Regions from separate parts of the Homo sapiens genome. Here all the other regions are linked to region 4. The links are contacts of gene promoters, found by promoter capture Hi-C in blood cells and fetal thymus (Javierre and others, 2016). All regions are on one chromosome and are shown on one strand. Each heading gives the region's core, a stretch centred on a gene start or on the middle of the fragment in contact. The rest is flanking DNA. Distances are from core to core; before and after follow the strand shown. Region 1 overlaps PTPN12 (protein tyrosine phosphatase non-receptor type 12). Region 2 overlaps PTPN12 (protein tyrosine phosphatase non-receptor type 12). Region 3 has its middle 24 kb from the start of PTPN12. Region 4 holds the start of FGL2 (fibrinogen like 2). Region 5 overlaps PTPN12 (protein tyrosine phosphatase non-receptor type 12).

Evidence for each region. The method cuts DNA at HindIII sites, captures the fragments that hold promoters and counts their contacts. A CHiCAGO score of 5 or more calls a contact.
Region 1: a contact is called between a fragment that was not itself captured here and the fragment with the promoter of FGL2 in region 4, in 1 of 17 cell types (neutrophils). The highest score is 6.0, in neutrophils.
Region 2: a fragment that was not itself captured here is called in contact with the fragment with the promoter of FGL2 in region 4 in 1 of 17 cell types (monocytes); the score reaches 5.4 in monocytes.
Region 3: a contact is called between a fragment that was not itself captured here and the fragment with the promoter of FGL2 in region 4, in 1 of 17 cell types (monocytes). The highest score is 5.2, in monocytes.
Region 5: a contact is called between a fragment that was not itself captured here and the fragment with the promoter of FGL2 in region 4, in 1 of 17 cell types (monocytes). The highest score is 5.6, in monocytes.

What each region holds. Positions count from the first base shown.
Region 1 is chr7:77,552,430-77,555,129 of GRCh38, reverse strand. All of the region lies in intron 1 of PTPN12 (protein tyrosine phosphatase non-receptor type 12), which reads right to left. Among named protein-coding and RNA genes, the nearest start is that of PTPN12, 16 kb to the right of the region's middle. The HindIII fragment of the contact is 3,345 bases long and covers 1-2,700 here.
Region 2 is chr7:77,624,089-77,626,788 of GRCh38, reverse strand. It overlaps PTPN12 (protein tyrosine phosphatase non-receptor type 12), which reads right to left. Exons shown (of 18, transcript NM_002835.4): 13 at 1-84. Among named protein-coding and RNA genes, the nearest start is that of APTR, 71 kb to the left of the region's middle. The HindIII fragment of the contact is 4,744 bases long and covers 1-2,700 here.
Region 3 is chr7:77,512,018-77,514,717 of GRCh38, reverse strand. No RefSeq gene overlaps it. Among named protein-coding and RNA genes, the nearest start is that of PTPN12, 24 kb to the left of the region's middle. The HindIII fragment of the contact is 2,366 bases long and covers 231-2,596 here.
Region 4 is chr7:77,198,554-77,201,253 of GRCh38, reverse strand. It overlaps FGL2 (fibrinogen like 2), which reads left to right and starts at 1,435. Exons shown (of 2, transcript NM_006682.3): 1 at 1,435-2,073. The coding sequence starts at 1,461. All of the region lies in intron 2 of CCDC146 (coiled-coil domain containing 146), which reads right to left. RefSeq lists a silencer at 1,735-1,844. The HindIII fragment of the contact is 5,002 bases long and covers 1-2,700 here.
Region 5 is chr7:77,574,987-77,577,686 of GRCh38, reverse strand. The region is part of intron 2 of PTPN12 (protein tyrosine phosphatase non-receptor type 12); the gene reads right to left. Among named protein-coding and RNA genes, the nearest start is that of PTPN12, 39 kb to the right of the region's middle. The HindIII fragment of the contact is 3,824 bases long and covers 1-2,700 here.

The sequences.
Region 1 (2,700 bases), core at 48-2,547, 350 kb before region 4:
TCAGAAACTAGGCAAGCAAGAAGAGAGTGACAAAATATCATATTGAGAAGAAAAAACCCACCAACTTAGAATCCTGAACCTTGCAAAATTATCCTTCAAAAACCAAAGAGAAATAAAAACTTTCTCAACAAACAAAAATTAAGGCTGGGCAAGGTGGTTCATGCCTGTAGTCCTAATGCTTTGGGAGGCTGAGGTGGGTGGATGGTTTGAGCCCAGGAGTTCAAGACCAACCTGGGCAACACAGTGAGACCTCGTTTCTACAAAAACAGAAACAAAAAAAAACTTAAGTGAGTATGGCGGTGCATGCCTGTAGTCTCTGCTACTCCGGAGGCTAGGGCAAAAGGACTGGTTGAGCCCAGCAGGTCAAGGCTGCAGTGTGCCATGATCATGCCACCGCATTATAGCCTGGATGACAGACAGAGCAAGACCCTGTCCCCCAGAAAAGATTAAGAGAATCTGTTGCCACAGACCTACCTTGTGAGAAATGTTAAAATAAATTTTTTAGAGAGAAGACAAATTATTCTAGTCTGGAATTCACATCTACATAAAGAAAGGAAGAAGAAATGAGAGAAAGAATAAATGAAAGTAAAATTAAAACTTTTATTTTTCTTATTAATTGATCTGATACGTTTATTCAGAATAGCAGCAAACATGTATTTGGTTATATATGCTTGTGTGTGTATGTTTATTTGTAAGTGAGATAATGCCAGCAATGATACAAGGGATAGAATTAGGGTTACTTTGTCATTATAAAGTAATCTCACCATCCATAAAGTGGTACAGTGTTACCTGAAAATGGACTTGGATTTGCTGGAAATATACATTGCAAATGCCAGAGCAACCACTTAAAAAAGTGAAAACACCCAGCTGGGCACAGTGGCTCATGCCTATAATCCCAATACTTTGGGAAGCCAAGGCAGGAGGATTGCTTGAGGCCAGGAGTTTGACAGCCTGGGCAACATGGTAAGACCTTCTCTCTACAAAAAATAAAAAACATTACTTGAGGGTTGGTGGCACACACTTGTAGTCCTAGCTACTCAGGAGGCTGAGGCAGGAGGATCACGTGAGCCCAGAAGTTTGAGGTTACAGTGAGCTATGACATGCCACTGCATTCCAGCCTAAGCAACTAAGCGACACCTTGTCTCTTTAGAAAAGACCAAAAACAAAAAAAGTAAAAAAAAAAAGAAGTAAAACTGACATGCTAAGAAAGGACAGTCATATGATATTTTGAATTAAAACTGCAAAAGGCAGAAAAACAGTGGAAGACAAAAAAAAAAATAGGAACAAAGAACAATGACAACAGAAAATAGTGGCAAATATGGTAGACATTAATCCAATGCTATCAGTAATCACTCTGAACGTGAATGGTCTAAATGTACCAATTAAAAGATTGTCAGAGTGGATTAAAAACCAAGACCTAACTATATGCTGTCTACAAGAGATCCACTTTAAATATACAAACACACACAGATTAAAAGCAAATGGATGGAAAAAAATATATCAGCTAACACAAAAATAAAATGAGACTAGTTATTAATTTCAGATAAAGCAGATTTCATGGCAAGTAAAGTTATCAGGGATAGGGTGGCTTTACATCATGATAAAGGGGTCAGTTCTCCAAGAAGACAGCATAATCCTTAATCCATATGTGTCTAACAATTGTGCATAAAAATATGTGAGCCAAAACTGATAGAACTGCAAGGAGAAATATTTGAATCCACTATTATAGTTGAAGACTTCCGTACTCCTCTATCAGAAATGGACAGATCAAGCAAGCAGGAAATGAGTAAGGACACAGATGAACTTAACAGCATCATCAATCAACTGGATATATAATGCACGTCTATAGACTACCTAAGACAACAACTACAGAATACACATTCTTCTCAAGTTTACATGAAACATTCAACAAGACAGACCAAATTCTGGGCCATTAAACACACCTCAACAAATTTAAAACAGCAATCATACACAATGTCTGCTCTCAGACCATAATGGCACTCAAAAAATTTTGGATGTAGGGGCATTTTAAACTTCAGATTAGGGATGCTCAGCTCTGTATTTTCAGATAATTAAATATACTATACACATTCTTTCTGTCTCTGTCACCAAAAAGGTCCAAAAGAGAAAAAGAGCAAGGGGTGGCCTTTTTCCCCTCCTATTTATTTAACTTCTCACTTAATGCCCTAATCATGCTTCCTTCTGACACATCTGACACTGTGTCCTTTATTCTTACTAATTCAAACATTACAAACTATTTCTGTTTTAACGATAAAGAAGCTAAGATTGAGAGTGGTTCAAATCATGTACTCAACATTACATAGTAAGTAATGGCCAGGTCTAATACCTATATAACTGTTGTAAACCATATCATTGGACTGTCCACTATAATGCTAGACACTCAAATTCCTAACAAAGATATGTTACTTCCATCAGGTCTTTTCTTCCCTGCCTATTTTTACTTTTGTACATTCCTTCGTTTACACCCTCTTTAAATAATTTAAAGATTCCTGCCCAGTAGTATCACCAGATTACCTTTCCCTCTTTTATCTATAACCTGTTTTAAAGGCAAAATAATAATTTATAGATCTAATCCAACCTACATCCTATTTTAAAAAATGATAAAACCTCTATACCTTCTTTAACAACTAGAGAAATAAATGATGAGGTCATTTTAGAACATATTTGAAAATATCATAC
Region 2 (2,700 bases), core at 85-2,584, 430 kb before region 4:
GGAGAAGGTGTCAAGATGGGTGGCACTGGATGAGGTTCCGGTGGCTGCAGTATTTCTTCTTTAGCATCCCCTTCAACAAGGCAACTGAAAAACAAACATTTAAAAAGGGCATTTTAAGACTGTTAAACAAGTTGATACCTGAGAATTATGTAGCTAAGAGTAGCATATTAAGAGCCATTACAATCTGGTTGCGAATAAAAACTGCAGTTTTTCAGACTAAGAAAATTTAATGTTCATCAAGGTAATACACATATACTGTTTAAAAAGTCAAATACAAGACTTTGAATGAAAAACATAGTCTCTGCCCCGCAGCCCTCCTGTTAGCCAGAGGCATCAACTTTCAACATTTTTTTATAGCTGCTTCTAAAATTTACACCTCTGTATTTCAGACTATTTCAAAAGTTATTTCTTGATCTTTGTTTCACACATTTTCTACTGACTTCCTACTGTGGAAGTGTCCTTCTCTATCTTTCCAATACTGTTATATTGTAATTTTTCATTACCTCAGTCGTATGACTGCAGATAGTATTCCCATCTATGACACCATGATTTCGTATCTTTTCTTCTATAGTGTCTTGTTTTCCCCTAATGACTGCCTTGGATTTCTGATGGCTTAGCTCTCTATGCATCATCAGTTACTCAGCTTTTCTTCTAACTTTCTTGCAGATTGGTATACCTCCTCTCAATAATGACAAGCACACATAGTAAGTATCAATACCACAGACATCCTTGTTAGTAACTTTTGGCCTCCTGCTCCAGTGTGGACTACTGGTTCCCTAGTCCATCACAGAGCTAATGTTCTCTCTGGTTTCAGATTCTCCTGTTTCCCAGGTCTCATTTTCCTCTTTCTGGGTATACTCCTTTGTTCGGGTGGGTTATACCCTCTAGTTGCCTTTATTTTTTTCCTTAAAGAAATAGGGGCCAGGCATGGTGGCTCACGCCTGTAATCCCAGCACTTTGGGAGGCCAAGGTGGGTGGATCAATTGAGCTCAGGAGTTTGAGACCAGCCTGAGCAACACAGTAAAACCCCATCTCTACTAATAATACAAAAATTTGCCAGGTGTGGTGGCACACACCTGCAGTCCCAGATACTTGGGAGGCTGAGGCAGGAGAATTGCTTGAGCCCAGGAGGTGGAGATGGCAGTGAGTTGAGATCACGCCACTGCACTCCAGTCTGGGCGACAGAGCAAGACTGTCTCCAAAAAAAAAAAAAAAAAAAAAAAGAGAGAGAGAGCGAGAGAGAGAGCGCGAGTGAGAGTGAGAGTGAGAGAGAGAGAGAGAGAGAGAGAGAGAGAGAGAGAGAGAGAGAGAGAGAGCGAGCAGCCTGGGCAATATGGCAAAACCCTGTGTCTTTAACAAATACAAAAAAATTAACTGGATGTGGCAATGCATGCTTGTAGTCCCAGCTACTAGGAAGGCTGAGGTAGGAGGATCACCTGAGCCTGGGGAGGTCAAGGCTGCAGGGAGCTCTGATCATGCCACTGCACTCCAGCCTGGGTGAAAGAATGAGATCCTGTCTCAAAAAAAAAAAAAAACCAAAGAAGAAGATAGGGTTTACTATGTTGCCCAGGCTTTGTTGCTTTTTAAGAACTTTATATGAAGCAAACTTCTTGAGGGCTTGTATATTTAAGTTTTTGTGTTCTGTTTTTCTTTTGAGATAGAGTCTTGTTCTGTCACCCAGGCTGGAGTGCAGTGGCACCATCTTGGCTCATTGGAACCTCTACCTCCTGGGTTCCAGCAATTCTTGTGCTTCAACCTCCTGAGTAGCTGGGACTACAGGCACATGCCACCACACCTGGCTAATTTTTGTATTTTTAGTAGAGATGGGGTTTTGCCATGTTGGCCAGGCTGGTCTCCAACTCCTGGCCTCAAGTGATTTGCCTGCCTCGGCCCCCGCAAAGTGCTGGGATTACAGGGGTGAGCCACTGGACCCCACCTCAGAGTTTTTGCTTTTTTTTCTCCCCCCAGGTGATCAACCTTTTTTTATCCAACCAGATAACTGGCAGTAATCACATGGTACACCAGGTTTCCCCTTAAAAGAGACTCTGTGGGCCAGGCATGGTGGCTCACGCCTGTAATCCTAGCACTTTGGGAGGCCAAGGCAGGCGGATCACAAGATCAGGAGTTTGAGACCAGCCTAACCAACATGGCAAAACCCCGTCTCTACTAAAAACACAAAACCCTAGTCAGGCATGGTAGCGTGCGCCTGTAATCCCAGCTACTCAGGAAGCTGAGTCAGGAGAATCACTTGAATTCGGGAGGCAGAGGTTGCAGTGAGCTGAGATCACGCCACTGCACTCCAGCCTAGGTGACAGAGCAAGACTCTGTCTCAAAATAAATAAAATAAATAAATAAAGACTCTGTGAAGTTCAGATTCTCTAGACACATTCCCACATTCCTAGGACATGAGAAGATAAATGAATATCTCCAGAATACTGATCATATTAAAATGACAGCAATACTCTCATAAGATATTCCTATATCTGTTCAAGTTTTACAAGTAGATTCTTTTTTTTTTTTTTGAGACAGGGTCCTGCTCTGCCACCTGGGCTGGAGTACAGTTGCACTATCTTGGCTCACTGCAACCTCTGCCTTCAGGGCTCAAGCCATCCTCCCAGTTTAGCCTCCCAAGCAGCTGGGACTACAGGTGTGCACTACCACACCTGGCTAAGTTTTGTATTTTTTGTAGAGATGTGGTTT
Region 3 (2,700 bases), core at 164-2,663, 310 kb before region 4:
GTCTTCTTTCTACCATGTTGTAATGCCTCCCCTGAGACAGTGAACAAAAGGCTAGCTCTTTGAATTTTGTGAGATGTAGAAAGAAAGGGGAAAATGAAGGGAGAAAAAATGTGAATATCTCAAAATACCATCCTACCAGAATTATCAATATGTGATGAGTGCTTACTGTGTGCCAGATACTATACCAAATGCTTTACATATTTTTTCTCATTAAGTACTATTATCAAGCTTATTTTACAAACAAGATGATCAGATTTAGAGAGATTAAGTAAGTTGCCTGAAGTTTCACTGTTTCTAGATGGTAATGCTGAAATTCTACCAGGAATCTCTGACTCCCAGCTCCAACTTTTGACCATTAGCATGCAAGTTCTTTCCATGTGGTTGGGGAGGGAAGAAGGTTGGTCTAAGGGTGCTTTCCTTTGGCTTCATTTCTTCACATAAATGAGGATGCCAATCATACCTAAGACTTGTCTGTCATTAATACATTTCTGACAGTGGCTTCCACTTGGCAACACTTTGTAGGCGAGTGGACCTACTCTGTACACTTGAAATGTTGAAAACTGCACTTCTTCTAAAATACTGTTTGGATCAATCATTTCATTTAGTTAAGCAGGCCATCTGTCTATCCAGCATGTTTTCCAAGTGCCTGTGCGTAGGTACCACGTAAAATGCTGGGGACATCAAGATGAATTCAACACTCACCATGAGCTATGTGTGTGGTGTTTAGATGAAACAGACATAAAAGCTAATTACAGCAGTGAGATAAGTTGTATATCTAAACAGCATATGAATATGTGTTCTGGAATGCAGAAGAAAAGTACTAATTTCAGCTTAGGTATATCAAGGAAAACTTCTCAGAGGTAATAAGCCTTCAAGAATGAGTAGAAATTCACCAGTAGGACATTCTGGACAGAGGAAGAGGCATGGGCAAAAATGCTTGGCAATTTCAGAGAGGAGCACACAACTGAGAATAATTGGAGAGGATGATGTATGTTTATAGGAGCCAGATAATGAAGATACTTGTTCTACTATGCTAACAAGTTAAAATAATTAAAACTCTCACCCCACAGGAGGAATCTTGCCCACAAATATTCTTTGTTTGATGTAGGTTTTTTTTTCTTGAATTTGAATGTCTTTAAAAAGACGTACATTCTCTAGTCTTCTGTCTCCTCAGGCTCACCCCTCCATATTTAGGTTACCTAGCTATCCCTGCAGACATTTGAGCTTACTCCCCCTGCTGCAGCAATGGGGAGTCACGGAAGATTATCTTTGTTTATAGGAGCCAGATAATGAAGATACTTGTTCTACTATGCTAACAAGTTAAAATAATTAAAACTCTCACCCCACAGGAGGAATCTTGCCCACAAATATTCTTTGTTTGATGTAGGTTTTTTTTTCTTGAATTTGAATGTCTTTAAAAAGACGTACATTCTCTAGTCTTCTGTCTCCTCAGGCTCACCCCTCCATATTTAGGTTACCTAGCTATCCCTGCAGACATTTGAGCTTACTCCCCCTGCTGCAGCAATGGGGAGTCATGGAAGATTATCTTAAGGTGGAGTTAACATGAACGTATTTGCTCTTTCAGAGACCATTCTGGCTTACTGTGGAGGATAAATGGTGAGGCCAATTGGGAAGGGATGGTACAAGATATAGAAATGTCTTAGCTCGGGCTGCCTTAACCAAATGCCATAGCCTGGGTGGCTTAAACTCAGACATTTATTTTTCATTATTCTGGAAGCTGGAAAGTCCAAGATCAAGGCACAAGCAGATTCAATTCTTGGTGAGGGCTTTCTTCCTGGCTTGTAGATGGCCACCTTCTTACTGTATCCTTAAAGAGAGAAGGAGCTCTGGTTTCCCTTCCTCTTCTTATAAGGGCACTAATCCTATCATGGGGCCTCCACCCTCATGACTTCATCTAAACCTAATTACTTGCCAAAGGCCCCACCTCCTCATACCATCACAATGGGGGTTGGAGTTTCAGCATATGAATTTTGAGGGGAATACAAACATTCAAGCTATAAAAAGCGACTTACTGGGTGAAGAGGCTGAGAGGGAGGACTCATGATTCTCAGTTTCCCACTGAATGAACGGTGGTTCCATTAACTCCAAATGGATAGCACAAGAGGTTTTATTCTATATGTTTATATGAAGTTGTAAAATTTCTTAGGAAGGATTGTGGAGCAATTGCTAAAATCCACTTAATGTCTATTGGAAGTACCTAGATGAAGTTCACCAGGAGACCTTTCAAAAGTGTCTCAAATGTTCCTATAAATATTGTGACATATTTATGTCATAAATCAGGATACATGGTAGGACATGTTGGGCATTAATAACAGACATAATATTTAAAATGGGAACTGTTCTGAAAAATCAGGAGTGTATGGTCACTGGATATAAAAATTACTTTGTTGTCTCATCTAGGTTCTCTTTTATCAAAGGTCCCTCTGAATAAAAATACTATCGTTAGAATGTACATGTTTAAATAAACACGTCTCAAGTACAGCTAATCGATCTATGGGTATTTCCTCATTTTCATCTTCAATAATAATTTCAAACTCCCTACCATACTTTTCTACAGAGCTATTAATAGGAAGCTTCCATCAGCTAACTTGAGTTTCCTCTCATTTTCCCAGCTGACATTCACTGGAGGTATTAATGGGAAATATAATGTCTAAAAGACATAGGTAGTCTTCAAATTGG
Region 4 (2,700 bases), core at 186-2,685:
TCCAAGTTTGCATGACTATCATTCCTGTATGAGGGAAGAAATAGCTAAATTCCTCCGCTACAGCTACAGGAACAAAGGCTCATTAAAGCTGATGATCTGTTTACATGATCAGAGGTAGATCTAGGGTTGGAAGCCAGGTCTCCTGAGTATGCGAGAATAAATACAGTCATGGAAGAGTAAAGAGTCTGCCAACATTTTGAGAATGTGAATAGGATTTGGCTAAAATTAAGGGGATATACAGAAAAGTCATAGGAAATCAGGTTAAAGACATAAATATGAGATAGGCTACAGAGTGTTTTAAGTAATACAATAAAACATTTAGATTTTTGCCCATGTCAGTCATTTTGAAATTATTTTTAAAGCAAAAAAACCCTTTTTAAACAAGAAATCTTATGAGATGTCAATATGCAAAACAAATTAAAAGGAGGTGGTTTCTCTAACTGAAGCTGTTCCTCTTTCCTGCCTTCAGCCTCTGAAGAGAAAGTTAGAAAACTATTATCATTAATGCTACATGTTTTGAACAAGCTGATATACCAAGTGGCCCAGAGAGCAGGTAGAAGAACCAGCGTGGAGACAGAAAGCAAGAGGCCCGCCTGCCAGGGCTACCTGCAGAAAGAAAGGGCAAAGATGCTGTAGGCAAGAGAAGTTCAGGACAGACACTGGCATAGCTCAAAGATTCACATTTGAGCAGCTGTGGAAGATGACAGTACAATTACCAAAATGTCGAAGGGCAAAGGAGGCAGCTACTGGTTTTGATGAAAGACAATTATGTCCTTTTAAATGGGTCTTAGACATTTAGACATTAATATACACTATGCTACGGACAAAGGAATAGAAAGTAGCACTTTTTTCTCCACTAGTTTTCTTCTCTTTTTCAAGTAGATGAAGCAAAAGTCAACTGCAATAGTCAGAAAGCTGTACTTTGTTACACTTAGAAACTTCTAAAAGTGCTTAAGATTTCACCTGAAAGTCCAACATGAAGAAAATACAGGCTCCCCAATGCCCCATTCTAAGAAGGAAAAAGGACCATTTTCATTTTAGTAACGTTTCTGTTCTATAGACAGTTTGGATAACTAGCTCTTACTTTTTATCTTTAAAAACTGTTTTTCCAGTGAAGTTACGTATAATTATTTACTTCAAGCGTAAGTATACCAAATTACTTTAGAAATGCAAGACTTTTCTTATACTTCATAAAATACATTATGAAAGTGAATCTTGTTGGCTGTGTACATTTGACTATAATAATTTCAATGCATATTATTTCTATTGAGAGTAAGTTACAGTTTTTGGCAAACTGCGTTTGATGAGGGCTATCTCCTCTTCCTGTGCGTTTCTAAAACTTGTGATGCAAACGCTCCCACCCTTTCCTGGGAACACAGAAAGCCTGACTCAGGCAGCTGCCGCTATTAAAGCAGCTCCAGCCCTGCGCACTCCCTGCTGGGGTGAGCAGCACTGTAAAGATGAAGCTGGCTAACTGGTACTGGCTGAGCTCAGCTGTTCTTGCCACTTACGGTTTTTTGGTTGTGGCAAACAATGAAACAGAGGAAATTAAAGATGAAAGAGCAAAGGATGTCTGCCCAGTGAGACTAGAAAGCAGAGGGAAATGCGAAGAGGCAGGGGAGTGCCCCTACCAGGTAAGCCTGCCCCCCTTGACTATTCAGCTCCCGAAGCAATTCAGCAGGATCGAGGAGGTGTTCAAAGAAGTCCAAAACCTCAAGGAAATCGTAAATAGTCTAAAGAAATCTTGCCAAGACTGCAAGCTGCAGGCTGATGACAACGGAGACCCAGGCAGAAACGGACTGTTGTTACCCAGTACAGGAGCCCCGGGAGAGGTTGGTGATAACAGAGTTAGAGAATTAGAGAGTGAGGTTAACAAGCTGTCCTCTGAGCTAAAGAATGCCAAAGAGGAGATCAATGTACTTCATGGTCGCCTGGAGAAGCTGAATCTTGTAAATATGAACAACATAGAAAATTATGTTGACAGCAAAGTGGCAAATCTAACATTTGTTGTCAATAGTTTGGATGGCAAATGTTCAAAGTGTCCCAGCCAAGAACAAATACAGTCACGTCCAGGTATGTATAATAATGTTTTCTTATCATATGTTCATAAATGTTATACAGCTAGAGAGTATCTATAAACATTAACCTGAGTCAGTAAGTTAAATAGATGACAGATTAAGTCTTTTATTTATCAAGGTGCACAGGAAAAAATAAATATCTTCTCAAATATGACCACATAAATATGACCTAATTACAAAAATCATAGTTAGTTCTGTATCCACTGGAAGTCACTTTCAATTTTAAGATCTTATTTGTTAATGCCAGACCTACTTGCAAGCAGAAGTAGAGAGAATTTCTTGATGTTTTAGTGCATTTAACTTGTCTCTTCAATGAGGTGTTTGAAAACAATAAAGATAAGGCGATGTTCACAATTGTGCCTTGTTTGTTGGAAATCAGTTTTTCTTGTGATTGACTGACTGCCGCTTCTCATGGCTAAAGAGGTCTTTGAAAGATTTTAGCAAGTAATCTAGTTCTTAATCCCAAATATCTGGAGAAAATGGGAGAGTTTACAGATGGAATAAAAGCAGTTTCATATGTGTGCACAAATTTTTGCTTTGAGACCTAGTGGCACAAAAAATATTTTAAGGGGAGAGTTTTAGCATGCCACTAAGGGAAGGTATTCATATTTCTTTCTCTTTT
Region 5 (2,700 bases), core at 94-2,593, 380 kb before region 4:
TATACAGCATATCATGTGTATTTTGATTTTGGCATTTTAAATGTGAATTTTAGTATCATTCATCCAATAAATATTTATTGCATGTAATAAGCACAATAATGTTGTTCATATATCCATAGTAAAGTAGTAGCAAGGAAAGGGAGTAAGGAACATCTTGAGGATATCAGCAGTCTTCAGAGGTGTGACAAGCTGGGTCTCAGGGAATGAGAAGTTTGCCAATGATTAAAAAGAAAAAAAAAATAGGGCATTATAGGTAGCATAATAGGTTCAAAAGTATAGAATTAATAAAAAATAGCTACCATGGAATGAACGTTTCCTCTAAGCACATAATTTTATCCTCACCACACACCCATGGAGATAGAAGTTAATATCGCTATGCACAGACAGAGGTATGCCCAAATCACAAAACTGAGATGGCAGTGACACATTTGAAACTGGGGCTGCCTGATTTAAAAGCCAAGGCTCTGGGTCTAAATAATACATGTACTGAAGAGATATGAAGCAACATGGGACTACTGGAAGGAAGCGGTGAGCAACAAGGCTGAAAATGTAGCCGCCTGTTCTCACTCACTTGACCATAGAGCAAAGAAGGGGTGGGCTGGAATTGGAGTATGGAACAAATGCATGATTTCAAATAAATGAGTGTATATCCACCCCAGTTCTGTCCACTGAAAAGGCCTAAAAGCAATGACACACCAAACCCTGTTCAATTGTGGGGTCAGCCAGGCCTTCCAGGATTGCTCCCCGCCCTCCCAGCTGGCTTTTCTGCCACATTCCACTGCCACAGCAGACTGGGTGTCCTTCACCTGCCTGCATCTTCTGCAGTTTGTTAAGTGGCACCCTTAGCTCCTGTGACACCTTAGGGAGAAAGCCACAGCACCCATGATTTTGGGCCACCATTAACACCCGGCAAAGCGCCGGGAACTAGAAGTAGCGAGAAAGAACTTGGGTGGCTGTTTTAATATTCTTCATTGGTGCTCTTTTTTTTTTGAGACAGTGTCTGGCTCTGTCACCCAGGTTGGAGTGCAGTGGCACCATCTTGGCTCACTGCAACCTCTGCCTCCCAGGTTCAAGTGATTCTCGTGCCTCAGCCTCTCAAGTAGCTGGGACTACAGGCACGTGCCATCATGCCTAGCTAATTTTTGTATTTTTAGTAGAGGCGGGGTTTCACCGTATTGGCCAGGCTGGTCTTGATCTGATCTCAAGTGATCTGCCCGCTTCGGCCTCCCAAAGTCCTGGGATTACAGACATGAGTCACCTCGCCCTGCCAGATTGGTGCTCTTATTAAGCATATTTAGAAATAATCTAAATATCAAAAAAATGAAAACAATTATTCCTCTCCATGGTTTTGCTAGCTATCCAACCAAGAGAAACAAAACCATAGGTCCACACAGAGAGTTGTATGACATGTTCATAGCAGCATTATTCAATATGTTCATCATTCATACAATGGAATATTATTCAACAACAAAAAGGAATGAACTATCGATGCATGCTACATCGTGAATGAATCTTTAAAATGTGTTAACAAGAGGCTGGGCACAGTGGCTCAAGCCTGTAATCCCAGCACTTTGGGAGGCCGAGGCAGGCGGATCACGAGGTCAGGAGTTCGAGACCAGTCTGGCCAACATAGTGAAACCCTGTATCTACTAAAAATAACACAAAAAATTAGCCAGGCATGGTGATGTGCGCCTATAATCCCAGCTACTCAGGAGGCTGAGACAGGAGAATCTCATGAACCTGGGAGGCGGAGGTCGCAGTGAGCCGAGATCATGCCACTGCACTCCAGCCTGGGCAACAGAATGAGACTTCATCTCAAAAAAAAACTGTTAAAAGAGCTAGACACAAAAGACTATATATTGTATGATTACATTTATATTAAATTCACAGAAAAGGAAAATCTATACAGACAGAAAGCTGATTAACAGCTGCCCAGGGCTGAAGACTCAGATCTTTTAGGGGTGATGGAAATGTCCTAAAACTAGATTGTATTAATTGTTGCAAAACTCTATAAATTTACTTTAAAAAAATCATTGAATTGCACAATTAAAATGGATAAATTTCATGGGTATGTAAATTATACCTCAAACCTGTTTTAAAAATTCTATTTCTGCAAGCACTGCACATGTTAAAACATGCAAAGGAAGTTAGTGAATTAAATTCTTCTCCATCTTATTTTTTGAGACAGTCTCGCTCTGTTACCCAGGCTGGAGTGCAGTGGTGCAATCATAGTTCACTGCAGCCTTGACCTCCTGGTCTCAAGTGATCCTCCCACATCAGCCTACTGAGTAGCTGGGACCACAAGTGTACACACGAGAGAGAGAAAGAGAGAGTATGTGTGTGTGCGTGCGTGCGTGCGTGTGTGTGTTGAGTTTTGCTATGTTGCCCAGGCTGGTCTTGAACTCCTGAGCTCAAATAATCTGCCCAGCTTGGCCTCCTAAAGTGCTGGGATTACATGCATGAGCCACTGTGCCCGGGCAATGAATTAAATAGTTATCTAACAGTAAATAAGCACATATCTCTCAGTACAATTACTTTCAATATAAATTTCCAGGCCAGGTGCAGTGGCTCACACCAGTAATCCTAGTACTTTGGGAGGCTGAAGCGGGTGGATCACCTGAGGTCAGGAGTTTGAGACCAGCCTGGCCGACATGGTGAAACCCTGTCTCTACTAAAAATACCAAAAAATTAGCTGGGCAT